Regions from separate parts of the Homo sapiens genome. Here regions 2, 3 and 4 are each linked to region 1. Evidence: promoter capture Hi-C in 16 types of primary human blood cells and fetal thymus (Javierre and others, 2016). All regions are on one chromosome and are shown on one strand. Each heading gives the region's core, a stretch centred on a gene start or on the middle of the fragment in contact. The rest is flanking DNA. Distances are from core to core; before and after follow the strand shown.

The links. Contacts are between HindIII fragments. The CHiCAGO score rates a contact against its expected background, and 5 or more counts as called.
Region 2: a fragment that was not itself captured here is called in contact with the fragment with the promoter of MOB1B in region 1 in 3 of 17 cell types (fetal thymus, total B cells and naive B cells); the score reaches 7.2 in fetal thymus.
Region 3: a contact is called between a fragment that was not itself captured here and the fragment with the promoter of MOB1B in region 1, in 1 of 17 cell types (fetal thymus). The highest score is 6.6, in fetal thymus.
Region 4: a fragment that was not itself captured here is called in contact with the fragment with the promoter of MOB1B in region 1 in 1 of 17 cell types (total B cells); the score reaches 5.2 in total B cells.

The regions. Positions count from the first base shown.
Region 1 is chr4:70,900,394-70,904,003 of GRCh38, reverse strand. It overlaps MOB1B (MOB kinase activator 1B), which reads right to left and starts at 1,635. Exons shown (of 6, transcript NM_173468.4): 1 at 1,454-1,635. The coding sequence starts at 1,467. It overlaps LOC124900711 (a long non-coding RNA gene), which reads left to right and starts at 1,773. Exons shown (of 2, transcript XR_007058132.1): 1 at 1,773-2,055. RefSeq lists silencers at 1,306-1,355, 1,666-1,815. The HindIII fragment of the contact is 2,463 bases long and covers 1-2,134 here.
Region 2 is chr4:70,603,736-70,607,345 of GRCh38, reverse strand. It overlaps AMBN (ameloblastin), which reads right to left. Exons shown (of 13, transcript NM_016519.6): 12 at 3,425-3,469; 13 at 58-1,161. The coding sequence ends at 616. Among named protein-coding and RNA genes, the nearest start is that of AMBN, 13 kb to the right of the region's middle. The HindIII fragment of the contact is 2,710 bases long and covers 581-3,290 here.
Region 3 is chr4:71,181,332-71,184,941 of GRCh38, reverse strand. LOC124900712 (a long non-coding RNA gene) reads left to right here. Exons shown (of 2, transcript XR_007058133.1): 1 at 1-361; 2 at 487-1,254. It also overlaps a transcript of SLC4A4 not described here. Among named protein-coding and RNA genes, the nearest start is that of SLC4A4, 4.1 kb to the left of the region's middle. The HindIII fragment of the contact is 2,961 bases long and covers 373-3,333 here.
Region 4 is chr4:70,639,276-70,642,885 of GRCh38, reverse strand. ENAM (enamelin) reads right to left here. Exons shown (of 9, transcript NM_031889.3): 9 at 1-871. Among named protein-coding and RNA genes, the nearest start is that of ENAM, 12 kb to the right of the region's middle. The HindIII fragment of the contact is 3,274 bases long and covers 318-3,591 here.

The DNA of each region.
Region 1 (3,610 bases), core at 386-2,885:
GTCTCAAAAAAAAAAAAAAAAAAAAAAAAGAACTAAAATAAGAAACAAGGACTTTTTTATAAAATCACCCAGTCCTGTCATCTAGCCCTATGCCAATCCGACAAACTCAGAATCAACTTCTAGGAGGAGCCTAAGAAATCCCTTTCCGTTTAAAGGTTTTAGGCAAGTTGACACAAGCCAGGTCCCCTATGCATATTGGAAATATCAAGTCTGCCCCTAGGTCAGCCTTGTTCAGTTTTGCTTAAACACCCTAAAAAAAAAAATTCTAGATGTGAGCATGTGAAAATAAGAGTGAATTAAATTCTCAGTATTCAGACGTCAATGTAATGACTAAAAATTATTAGGCAAGGAAAGAAGAGAAATCTTAAGAAAATATCCTTTAAATGCTAATTTCTCCACAACAGTAAAACAGTATATGGGTGAGTTTCAACTTCTAAGTTTTTTATTAGTTTTCTAAACACAGACTAAACATGGAATGAGTGCATCACAACGAAGCCTTCAAAGGAGTTATTCCTCAGGCTGTAACCCCTGTTTTCAGAGGACCTGAGGCTTATCTACTGCCTCCATATCCACATCTGGCCATCCCATCCTTCTGCCCTTCCCCCTCCACGTTCCCCTCCACTCGTCTGGAACAAACGATAAGTAAGTGAAATAATGACCAGCACTAAACATGACGCCAAAGTTGGCATTTACAAATGATTTTCAAAACAACTCCCCAGTGGACCTAATCAACCTAGGCAGGGCACACTATCCAAAACCTATTTGCTGGTTGTCTAAAAAGATAAAACTCATCCTCTTCAGGGAAGTCCTCTGGGAGGAAGGGCGCCTCTAGGAAGCAAGGGGGCGGCTCCAGACCCCTTTCTCAGGGACCCCCGTCTGTGTCCAAGGGATCCCGACCCGCAAGTAGCCTTGTTTCAGTGTTACATCTACAGAACTTGTCATCCCAACTTCCCAGCCCTAAGACGAGAGAGGAAGTTAAAAGGGTCCTGGGATGACAGGGGAAAGTACGACAGTCTTATCTTCTGTGCTTGGGACCCAGAAAAGAGCAATGGGCAGCCGCGACGGAGCCATTCAACCGAGCACCGCTTGGATACGGATTGTGCAGGCGAGTGGGAGATACCCACGAGAAGCGCACAAACAAGCCCGGGAATGCGAGCGAAGGCAGAGACGGGGGTGATGAAGGAATCCAGGCGCTGGCCCCGGGGTGTGCCGGGGGGGAAGAACCTCCTCAGGGCTGCAGGAGCCCACGAGTACTCGAAGCCCTATGGGGAGGCGGCGGTTAGGTAGTCCGAGCGCTCCGCGCAGTCCCGGGGCCCCGCTTGGTGGTGACGCCGGGCCCCGGGAGCGCTGGGCCAGGAGGGTCGGGACGAGGGCGGGCGACGGGCGGCGGGCGGCGGGCGGGGGCCCAGGTCCACCCGAACAAAGCCGGCGCGTGCGGGGCCTGGCTACTCACAACAAGAAGCTCATGTTGGCCGCGGGGCAGGCTGCAGGCTCGGCGGTCGCGAGGCCTCGGAGCGGCGTGGGCCAGGAAAGAAGAGGAAAGGCGAATGGAACAGGAGACAGGGAGGCGGAGGAGGAGGTGCCGAGAGCCGGCTGCTCGGTGGCCGCAACTAGTTCGGCTCAGCTAGTTCCAATGGCAGGGGGAGGGGGCGGAAGTGGGTAGCGCTCGTCTTGAATCACTCCAGGGGAGGGGAAGGAAAGGGAGGCGGGGCAGGCTCTCCGCGAGCCCCTCCCCAGCTCCCCGCCGCCCCCACCTCACGAGCTCTCGCGATAGCGGTGCAAGCCCACCCCGGCCCTCCGGCTGCGGCATGGGGACTCTCACCTTCTGGTCTCCTCTGCTGCTAGGGACGACGCCCAGCGTGTGCGCCGCGGCTGCCCGGCCCCCCTGTCCACCCGGTTAGGAGTCATGGCAGAGCTCTCGGAGCCGCTCAGCTGGGCTCCAGAGGTCAGGGAGGAAGTGGGCTTCAGCTCGGGGATGTCAAGGTCCCGCAGTGAGGGATGGAATTACCACCGGAGTTAGGCCCACCGTGAGTGTCCGGCCAAGGGCGGTGAAAGGTAATGGCATCTCTCAGTTCACCACGGAACCCAGCATGATAGGGTGGTCATCGGTGTAACCACTTAGGGGGCCAAAGCTTGTAAGCATTCTAATGCACAGAACATCCTAGAAGCTAGAAGCTATTCAGACCCACTTACAAAGGGACTTTTATTCTCACAGGGTTATGGGGCCCAGGGCAAGCCTTTATATTCTGTTTAAGAATCCTTCACATACCTTGAATATGTCACCACAGCATTACCAATTTAGGAGGGAAATACGGGTATCGAAGAGATGTCCGTCTTCTTTACTCACAACACCCATCAAATCTACAAGTTTTCAAAGAGAATCTGAGCAAAACAAATCATGTGCAGATATTAGCTCACCTTTGGCTTATCCCAAAGGGCAGAATACACTTTGAAGTAGGTGCAGATATGAAATGTATTATACTGCATATATGCACTATTATTTGGCACGTTGGTAAAGTGGTAAAAAAAAAAAAAAAAAAAAAAAAAAAAAAAAAAAAAAACGTTTTAGGCCGGGCGCAGTGGCTCATGCCTGTAATCCCAGCACTCTGGGAGGCCGAGGTGGGTGGATCACCTGAGGTCAGGAGTTCAAGACCAGCCAAAGTTCAAGACCATGGCCAAACCCCGTCTCTACTAAAAATACAAAAATTAGCCGGGCATGGTGGCACACACTTGTAATCCCAGCTACTCGGGAGGCTGAGGCAGGAGAATTGCTCCAACCCAGGAAGCAGAGGTTGCAGTGAGCCAAGATCATGCCACTACACTCCAGCCTGGGTGACAGAGTTAGACTCCGTCTCAAAAAAAAAATTTTTTAATAGAAGAAAATACTAGAATCTTGCACTATCTCAGGAACAGCAGAGGTTACTGGAATGAGAAAACTTACAGACTCAAAAGATTACCAGATCAGGATAAATAGCTAATGCATGCAGAGCTTAATACCTAGGTGATAAGTTGATAGGTTCAGCACACCACCATGGCACACACGTTTACCTATGTAACAAACCTGCACGTCCTGCACATGTATCCTGGAACTTCAAATTAAATTAAAAATTTTTTAAAAGATTCCCCAAAAAGAAGAAAGAGGAGGATTTATCTGAATGAAAATAATAGATTTATGGTATAAAACCCTGTGCTCCAAATATTGATATGGTACTGACTTACTGTATAATTCTTTTTTTTTTTTTTTTTTTTGAGACGGAGTCTCACTCTGTCACCCAGGCTGGAGTCCAGTGGTGCAACTTCTGGACTAGGCTCACTGCAACTTCTGCCTCCTGGGTTCAAACAATTCTGCCTCAGCCTCCTAAGTAGCTGGGATTACAGGCCTGTGCCACCACACCTGGCTAATTTTTGAATTTTTAGTAGAGACGGGGTTTTACTATGTTGGCCAGGCTGGTCTCAAACTCCTGACCTCGTGATCTGCCTGCCTTGGCCTCCCAATATGCTGGAATTACAGGCGTGAGCCACCACGCCCAGCCCTGTATGATTCTTGTAAGGGTCTTCTGAAAGTAAGACTTGCATTACCAGATTACTGATTATCTTTGGAAAGAGTGAG
Region 2 (3,610 bases), core at 686-3,185, 300 kb after region 1:
ATGCTTTTCTTGAACCATTTAAATCTATATAAATAATAAGCATACAATTCCTGATAATTTCAGTGAGAAAAATTCTTTATTTAAAATAGGCTAGATTTTTTATACTAGATTAAATAAAATACTCTATAAATGAGAATTTTAAATTAAATTATACCAAACCCAGTAATACCAGTCAGGAGTTTTCCACCAATCCCCATTTAATAAAGTTTAAATGAATTAGCTTAGAATTATGAGGATATTTGCCTTTGCTTAGAGAAAAAAGCAGTGCCATGTTTCCTGAATATAATAGTGTCATGCTGGTAAGAGAAATTCTATAATGCTTAAGACAGCTAAGAAAAAGTGATGATCAAATGCTGAGACCCTTAGAACCTTGCTCTGATGTTATTAATAGTGTTTCTAAATCACAGAGACAATTGACACATTTTATTTCAACAAGATATTGAAAGCAAGAAGGGGACCTACACTATTTCTAGCCACTTGCATTTATTAATATATGCTTAGCGCTTTTAATGCCTTTGCTGCAGAAGGGTAATAAGTGTTTTAGCAAAAAGGTACACTGTGGGGACAAAGCTGGGAAGCTTGTGCATACAGAAAGTAGCTAATATCTTAGAGCTGTCAGGGCTCTTGGAAATGCCATGCGTCATGCATCATCTCGGGCTCCTGGGCTTTGTTTCCTGGCATGGATGTTTGCAGAGAGTTTGGGGCCATCGTGGTATCCATGGTTGCTTCTTCCTGGAAATCCACGGATGTGGTCATGTCAGCATCGTAGGTCCTATAAACATCAGCTAATTCAGGGGTCATCAGTGGGTCAGCAGCTGCTGGGGTGACGCTGGGGAGTCCCTTCATCTTCCCTGAAGGGCTCCTTGGCAGGCCGGGAATGTCATCCTTAGGGAGAGCAAGGAGCCCTGCGTGGGGAGCAGGTTCTAGCTCTGTAAGGAAAGCTGGGTTTTCTAGATTGTCTGGGTTGGCCTCCGGCATAGGGGAGCCTTGTGCACCTCCTTCTTCGTTCTCAGGGCCTTTGGTGGCAGCCACTGGGGAGTCAAATTCCAGAGTGAAGTCACCGCCCATAGCTGGGTTGTGGGGCATTCCCTCAAAGCCGGGCCTCATGCCTCCAAATCCTGGAAACATGGCTCCATAGGCCATTGGGTCTTCTCTCCCGCCCTGGAAAAAAAAACATTCGTCAAAGATGCCATCATCACATGCTATTAACTATACCATGCAGCTATACCTGGTCACATTCACCAAGGATCTCTAAAAAACTGGTGGAGAATAGGAAGTTGGCTGATTGATAGCTTTGTGTAAGCTCATTTCTCACTAAACTGGCTTTGAAACATAATGAAGAGGATTCTGCACTTATCTGGGTGGATCTCGGCATGATTTCCGTAAAAGGGAGATAACAGGGCAGAAGCAAGACTTGAGGCAAAGGTGAGTTTGAATTTAATTTTAAGAAAACAAGCAGTTGAAATGAGTACTACCATCACAAAACAAATAAGAACTGAAATTCATAACTGCATTTGTTGAGCGAGAATCTTGTCAATGGCATTTTTCAGTGTCCCCCAAATGAAGTTCCATGTACTTTTTTTTTCTTTTAGGGGTCTCATTATACGGCCCAGGCTGCTGGTCTAGAACTCCTAGGCTCAAGTGATCTTCTTGCCTCAGCCTCCCTAGTAGCTGGGATCACAGGGGTGAGACACTGCACCCAGCTAAGACTTTAATTTTTTTAAAGCACAAAGTTTAAGAAAAAAAATGTGACTTCCCTGGAGTAACTAAAATATTTTCTTCTTGTGGACAAATAGAATACCAGCACTGACCATGTTTCTTTTTCTACCTTTGCTGCCAGAAATATGGGGTCCAAAATCTTAGGCTGTTTGTAGCAATTGAGCAGGCCTGTGTGACTTGCATATCTGTATTCTGATTTTCTTGAAATTATGACTCATTTTAAATCCTACTTTCAATTTTTTGTTATATTTATTGTGTGTTTTTCATAAGCTCTACAAAATCTTTTGGGAATGAGGCAGAATAGAAATAATTAATACTATGTGATGGCAATTAACACTTACTTGAATTTTGAACTTCCAGCCACTTGTATTGGTGCTATATAGATACAATACTCTTTCCTTCTCCTTTCTCCTGACTCTTCATTCTCTCTCAGCTTTCACATCATCTCCTCCAGGGATGATACTGTGAATCCCTGGACTGGGCTAACTGCCCTTCCTCTCTGACTCTTTCTCTCTAATAAAATTGTTATTACTTTTAGCCCATGATTTTGACATTAGGTATCTGCCCTTGTACCTATCTTTTCCATTCATTAGACTGTAAGTTCCTTGAAAACAAGACTTTTTTTTTTTTTTTTAAGGCAGGGTCTTGCTCTGTTGCCCAGGCTGGAGTGCAGTGGCGTGATCTCAGCTCGTTGAAACCTCTGCCTCCCAGTTTCGAGTGATTCTCCTGCCTCAGCCTCCTGAGTAGCTGCGACTACAGGCTCGCGCCACTAAACCTGGCTGATTTTTGTATTTTTAGTGGAGACGGGGTTTTACCATGTTGGCCAGGCTGGTCTCAAACTCCTGATCTCGGGTGATCCATCCGCTTCAGCCTCCCAAAGTGCTGGGATTATAGGCATGAGCCACTGCGCCCAGCCAAAAACGAAAATCTTACCTTGTCTTGTTTACAGTATTTTCCTATGTGTGTGGCACATGGAAGGCACACAAAAATACTGAGATGTAATTTTTCTTTCACAGATAATATGTGTGTGTGTTTGTTAACTTGACAGGATCTGTAGTTGACAGTGATTTGTTAATTCAATATAGCTTTTGTTTTGTCTTGCCTTGTGCTCTAACAGATGTAACAGGCAAAAATTTTCTTAGGGAAAAAGTCAAGTTGTATGACTTTATTGATCTCAAATCTTAAACTTGCATGGATAATGATAACATAATAAGAGTATATGCTCATTGACAATGCACATTGACATTTATAATAATCACATTTTAAACTTGGTTTTCTTTTGCTTTTTGATCTTTCAATTTTGAGATCTGAATTACTTGTAATGCTGTTGAATTTGATGTTTTGAGGGGTTAAATGGTCCCAGAAAGAACAAGAACTCTGTATGAACCACGTGTATCCTTTTGGTTTGAAGTGTTTATAGTTCAATGACGGCCTTTCAAGGGGAGTTTTCTCCTCTGTTCATCTACAAGCAATGGGGCAAAACTCTATGCTCAAGAATAGTCATCACCCAGAAATGAAAGATTACATAGGAAACATGATGAAATCTTTGGATATTGCTTCAGAATTAAGCTTAGTTTTTGGAGTGGAAAAATCTGAGTCCCATGCTCATTTGGCTACATTCATGGCAGACGTCTCTTGCAGCCAGTCATAAGTGACTGTTCTTCCCTGGCCACTATTTTAAGAAGAGTTAGAAGACATTACTCACTGCCACTTCTTCTGAACTCATGATGCCAAGTCTGGCAGGGGCATTCTGTTCAAAAAGAAATATTGCGTCAAATTACGAACCAGCTACCTTCTTATCTACTCAAGACAAAGTTAAAAGTTATTTAGTTTTCACTTAAACCTTAATATTAATGCTGTGTACAGAGGCAAAGTGGAGAGGTGAGTCATT
Region 3 (3,610 bases), core at 604-3,103, 280 kb before region 1:
GCAAAGCGTTGACAACCTCTGTTATCATTTTCATTACTTGATGTTTGCTATCCCACAATTAAAAGAGTGTTCTATTTCCTTTCCTATTGATTAGTGTCCAGTAGTTGAGATATACGTGTTTTCCTTTGAAAGGTCATTGATTAATTTTTCTTATAAACTCTGCATGTGATCACTTTCGATTGCTTTTCCGGGTGATAACAATGAATCCTGAGATTTTTGTTCACCTCTCCTAAAACTTGTGCCATGTCTCTTGATTCTCATAAGCACAAAGAAAGATTTATTAGTTCTTTTTGTCTTGGGGTTCACACAGCTTGGTGACAAGAAGAATGAGCAGAAAAACTGATGGAATTAGAAAAATGGTGTAAGTAAGCTTTACTGATAATGATTTGTTTACTTTTTAATCAACAACTCTCTGTACTAAAGGACTTCTTAGAATACCAGCCCAGTACTTAGCTTATTAATCAAATTTCTTTCGTATCATCCAAGGTCCTAATAGGCATCTAAAGAAAACAGAAAGGAGGAAGGACCTTTGTTTCGATGACAAGCACCATCTAGTGGCAGCAGGTGATGACGACATAATGTCTCTAAGAAGAATGAAGATGAAAGTTTTCGAATAGGTAGTCCAGGCATTTCTGGTCGCTTATAGGCATGACATTCTTTGATTCTAAAACAAGAAGTTGTATGTAGTAGAATAATGCAATTGATCGGCCCTGCGTTGATTATTGAAAGTAAGGTGCCGATGTGACCTGCAGATAGGATTATTAGCATAGAATTTTCTCAGTATTTGTGTGACTGACTAGGTCCTTAAAGACTCTGTATTTAAGTTTCCTCATTACATAAAATAGGAAGAGTGATGGCTTGTCACCATATGTTGTCTGTAAAGCACTGTGTTCAACAAAGAGCAGAATCCATAAATATAACTATTATATTTGGATTTTTTCACTATTGGGAAAAAAGGTGAAAAATATTGTTGGATGTTTCTCCTGGAGTTATACAAAATTATAACATTCATAGGCATTTCATATTGGGGCCTAAACAGAAAGGTGGTAGGAGATAACATTATAGCTTGTTACTATAAACGTCAAAGACTGATCAGAGATGTTTGTCAATATCAAGTCCTTTTTAAATAGGTGGTTCATTGGCGAAAGTCTGACCAACATGTTGCTACACAGAATAGAGATTTTCTTTGTGCTGATATTTGTTTGGACTTGTAGTTGTTTGCAACAGAATGATCATTAAAGTTGTCACTCTGTATCAATTTTGTTAACCACTTCATTGTGTAAGAGTAAGAAATGAGAAAAAGCAACTTTTGTTCTTCTCATTCTAAAACCAATCTGGGATGAAAGATAGATAGATATAGATCGATAGATAATAGGTCACCAAAGGCCTCATTTTTGTTTCACTTACACTCCAAGAGTATTCATATTCAGTCTGGCAAATTCTTGAATACATTCAACTAATCTAGATTTATAATTAACATTCTCTTCCTCAAACCCCAGGTTTAAAAATACCTGTAGCCCCTTTTTATGAGGAGAGAATGAAGGTGAACACAGTTTTTGGAAGCTGTCAGCACAGCATGAGCTGGGGAAAATAATTTTATTTGGTTAAACGTGTGTCCCAAGTTGCTTCACAGCTTTAGCAACTGAGCTCTCAACCATATCCAACTGTCGTTTTTAAAACACATGCCTAAAGTCAACTATCAGTAGAGGGTTCTAACTTCTGAAAACAGGAGCTTATCTCAGTTAATGTCAAGGAAGGCAGGTTATTCAATCTGAGTCTCAGTTCCCACAGCATTAAAATCAAGGAGCTTAAGATAATACCCCAAAATTCAGCAATTCCAACAGGATACCAGAATGATTTCCTCTAATAAAATTGAACAATATGTGATAGAGAAATATGCAAATCTTTCAGAAATGGTATCAACATATTTATTACGAAAGCTCTGTTTAATAACCTTAGGCCAATGTTTCAGCCCCTTCCTCCTGCAGGAATTCTCCCATAGATCAGCATAACACAGGACACAGACCTCTCTGTTTGGAAGGAGAAGGAAAACTTAAAATGAGCTACTAAGCCACTAAAACCCAGGCCCCTGATTTAAAAGATTGGTCTGGTTTTAGGTACGGTGGTAGAGAATTATGTTAGACTTCTCTATCAGAACAGACTCTTGGGGCCCTTGGACTCTCATAATGTGAGAGAGAGTGTGTGTGTGTGTGTGTGTGTGTGTGTGAAATGTACATACACGTGATCAGACTAGCAACTTCCCAGACACAGAAAGGTGTTTTTTCCTTTGTATCCCACTGGCTTCCTGCCTCCTTGGGAATTGAATGGGCCTACATAGCAGGCCACTTAAAAGCTGTTCCTCCTTTTTGGCCTATGGACCAAGTCATGCGGATTCAGCTGTTCCATTGCTTGGAGACAGGTTTCCCTATGGACTAACCGACCACCAGATCCAACTGGCCTATTACCGTTCACATCCCACTGGTCTGCTCTTTAGACCAGGCCTATCTTGGAGACCACAGCACCTCAGTCTCCTTGCAAGTAACAAAACAGTTGATGTTGCTAGTACCCATCTACCAGACTCATGTCTTCACGGAAAACACTGCAAATCAAAATCTGAATATTAAACGTTGGCTCCTTTTTCCCCTCTGCTTAGGGAAAGAGCACTCTGAGCAAATGTGCCTTCATGGCATTTCAATTTACCAGTGCCAACCAAAGGATGCTCAGTTCTACCACAGAATATGGGGCATGGTTGGGTCATCCATTCAGTCAACCAATATTTATTAAGAACCTACTTATTTTGTGTCAAGAACTCTTCTGGGTGATGGATTCCTAGAACAAGAAAAGTTCCTGCTTCATGGAACTTACAAGTAAACAAATAAGTGGACAAAATAATGTCCATTATCTTGGAATGCTAAATGCAATGAAGTGATAAATGCTATGAAGAGGGTGTCCAACTATCCCAGGTCACATTGCCAATTTACACCTGTTATCCTTCTGTAATGATAACAGCACTCCCTTTCACCTCAAAAGGAAGACATAGTGAGAAATTGTAGAATCCCCTTAGCCCTAGAAGAAATAAAGCACAGAGATGTGATAGAGTTGACAGGGCAAGGGACAGCTGCTTTCAAGTGGGGGGGTCAAGGAAGGTCTTTCTGAGATAGGAATGTTCGAGGACAAATCTGAATCAACAAGACATAAATATGAAAAATTGTAAAGGCAACTTGACAGTACAAATAGCATCTGGCATGGTGCCTTACACACAGTAGGAACTCAGTAATTATAGAATGATTGATGGCATTCCTTCTTTTTTGGAACATTAAAAATAGAGAAGCTTACTTACCCAGGATATATTTCTATTAAGACAGATTTCAGGCTTCACAAATTCCTTATGACATCATTCTTCTTACACAATAACATTGGGACTCTATCTGTGTATTTATTTGCATGTGCATAAAGCATCTCGTGAAGGATACATGAGCAATTAAAAGCACTATTTGCTTCCAGGAAGGGGAACTAGAGCAGGCATAGGGAGGAAGACTTATCACTGAATCATTCATACTTTACAAATTATTTTTTATTATACTTTAAGTTTTAGGGTACATGTGCACAA
Region 4 (3,610 bases), core at 705-3,204, 260 kb after region 1:
AATTAAAATTTGGGACTGGCATATAACCCTCAGAGTGAGGCAGTTTATAATTTGATTTATTAACTTCATACTGTTGAGAGTTTCTCCAGGGGCTGGTTGGATTCTTTGTAGGAACTATTATTTGTTCTTTTGGACCCAGGGGCTTCTCCTTTGGATTTTGGATTTTTTCATTGCGAACAACAGGGCCAGGTTTGGGACCCAGTGGGGCAACAGTAGTTCCTACAGGGTGTTTATTTGGCCCCTGAGGCTTTCTTCTGAGATTTGCTGGATTTCCTGCATAATTGGGATAATTGCCTCTTGAAGTAGGAGGGTAAGCTTTGTGATAAACTGGATTTCCTGGACGAGCTACTTGTTTACGTTCCCAAGCAAAGAAGTTCCACCGAGGACCCCTTTGAACTTGTTGATTTCTGTAAAAAGGCCTATTCTGTCTGTGCCCCATGACAGTACCAGTGAAATACCACTGTCTTCCTGAAGGAAAATTTCTTATATTAGGATATGGATGATTTTCACGAATATTTGGCTGACTTGGTCTCCATGGGATTTGACTTCCTGGCCCTCCCTGGCCTGAAGCGTTGACTGCAGGGAGTGGGCCAATCCCATTTTGAGCTGGAGGGTTGTTCCCAGTGTTTAGTCCTGGGGTACTGTTTCCTGTGGGGCTGGTGTCATTTCCTCCCTGACTCCCTTTAGGATTTGGTTGGGTAGAATTCGTCTCAGTGACTGTTGAATTAGCTGTGGGTTCTGTGCCTGGACTTTCTGCTTTAGGAGGATCTTCTTCTTTGGGTTTTTCAAAATCTTGTTCAAACATTTCTTCTGAATAATAAGGAGGGCGACCCCCAAAGCCATGATATCCAAAATATCCAAAGTAAGGATTCTGTAGGAAAGAAAATGGAAATCAATAATTGCCCTTTGTTTCCCACCATGGTGTTGTTTGGAATTTTTTAGTATAACAGGGAAATCTTATCAGCCACATGATTCTTTTAACATCATTAGCTTTACTTTCTTTCTTGAAATTTGATTCTTCCTTGGTTTCCATGACCATACTCTTTCTGGTTCTCTCTCCTGGTATTTTTTTCTGACCACTGCTCAGCTTTCTCTTTTTAGGCCTTATACATCTGAGGGTTTTTGTTTGTTTTTCTGTTTTGTTTTTAATGATTTCATCCTCCATCCTCCTAATTTTTCTGTTCTGTTTTTACATACCTCTTTTAAGAATTCTATTGCACCTGTAATCCCAGCACTTTTGGAGGCCGAGACAGGTGGATCACGAGGTCAGGAGTTCGAGACAATCCTGGCCAACATGGTGAAACCCCGTCTTTACTAAAAATACAAAAATTAGCTGGGCATGGTGGTGCACGCACCTGTAGTCCCAGTTACTCAGGAGGCTGAGGCAGGAGAATCGCCTGAACCCAGGAGGTGGAGGTTGCAATGAGCCCAGATCGTGTCACTGCATTCCAGCCTGGCAACAGCGAGACTCCATCTCAAAAAAAAAAATAAATAAATAAATAAAATAAAAAAAAATAAAAGAAAGAAAGAAAGAAAAAAGAATTCTATTGCATCAGCCCATGCTTTTAATAGGCATAGACTGCTAACAACTCCCAAAGGCATAATTCTAACCCACAACACTCTCACCCAAGGTTGAGGCAGCAAAACATCTCCACTAAAGATTTCATGAGTACCTCCAACTGAATGCACCCAGAACTGGGCTCATCTCCCGTGAAATCTCCTCCTCCGATGTTCTATATTTAAGCAACATTCACCACTATCTGTACAGTTTCTTAAGTTTCTGCTCTCTCTTAGTACTTCAGACTATTAATAATCAGGTCCTATAAAATCTAAACTTTCATCCTTGTTCCCACTTCCTTAATCCACAGTACCCCTGAACTGTTACAGTAGTTTTCTTACTGGCTACTCTGGATACAGTCTTACTTTCCTTTAATCTTGCTTCTGCACTGCCGTCAGAGTATTAGAGGCTGAGAGTGGGTATATGGAAATTTGGCCCCTTTCCTCTTTAAATTTGTATTTAAAGTTCTCCTTTACAAAATAAACTCTAAATCCCTTAACATAACATCAAAGCAGTACAACATGCTGCTAAACAGTGGGGCTCTAGACAGATGTGCATTAAAATCCCCGTTCCACCAGTATTAGTACTATGACTCTGGGCCAACCTTGGTTTATTCATTTGTAATATGGAGATGATAATAAAATAACGTCTACCTCATAGGTTGTCATGAGGGCCAAATGAGACAAAATAAGTACAGCTCAGTGCCTGGTACTTAGTAAGTGCCTAATAAGTGTTATATATTATATAATAATAATACAATTTTTAATAATAATCTGGGCTATAACTATTACATTCAGCCTCATTTCCTCCCCCTTGCACTTTATGCAGTTGCAAATCACAACTACGTTGAATTCTCTGGGTTCTCTATTCTTTTTATGTTTCAGTGCCTTTGCACACGGCTTATTCATATTGAAACTTCTTCCATTGACACATTTATTCCTCCTGGCAAATTTGACTCATCCTTCAGAGCTCAGTTTGACTTCTACCTTCTGTGTCTTGACTTCCATGGGCAGAATTAGGTCCTATTCCTAGGAGTCCACAGCAGTACAGATTTCTGTCATCACAATTATCCCACTGAATTTCAGTTTCCTATTTTCCTGGGATTCTTCCATTTAATTCTCCCATGTGAAGGTTTTGAATGAAAACATTATGCTTCTCATCCTTGTTTTCCAGTACCGAGGAGAGTGGGATGTTCTTAATAAATTTTCATTTAATGAATGATTTAATCATCACGAACTCAGTCAGTATGTTTGTTAGACATTTGTGTGGCATTTAGATCATTTGATTTTTCTTTTTAAAACAAATGCAATATAAAGAAAAGTATTTTAATCCCCATTTGTGGATGGAGATGAGAAAGACAGGCAAGGAAATATCTCCCAAGATCATGCAGGAAATCAGGTAGTGCCCTCAAGAGGTAGAATACAGACATCTTAGTTTTTGAGACAGGGTTTTTCTTTGTTGCCCAGGCTGGAGTGCAGTGGCAAGATCAGGGTTCCCTGCAGCCTTGAATTCCCAGGCTAAAGTGATCCTCCCACTTCAGCCTCCTGGGTAGCTGGGACCACAGGCACGTGACACCACGTTCACCTAACATTTATTTTATTCTCCCTATGTTGCCCAGGCTGGTCTTGAAATCCTGGGCTTAAGTGATCCTCCTGTCTCAGCCTCCCAAAGTGTTGGGATTACAGGTGTGAGCCATTGTGCCTATCTAAATTCAGATTTCTTTCCTTTTTTGTTTTTTGAGACTGAGTCTCGCTCTGTCGCCTAGACTAGAGTGCAATGATGTGATCTCAGCTCACTGCAACCTTCCCCTCCTGGGTTCAAGCGATTCTTCTGCCTCAGGCTCCACAGTAGCTGGGATTACAGGCCAGCACCACCATACCCGGCTAATTTTTGTATTCTTAGTAGAGACGGGATTTCACCACCTTGGCCAGGCTGGTCTCAAACTCCTTACCTCAAGTGATCCACCTGCCTCAGCCTCCCAAAGTGCTGGGATTGCAGGTGTGAGCCACCCGTGCCTGGCCTAAATAAAAGCTTCTTAAAGCCTGTGATAAC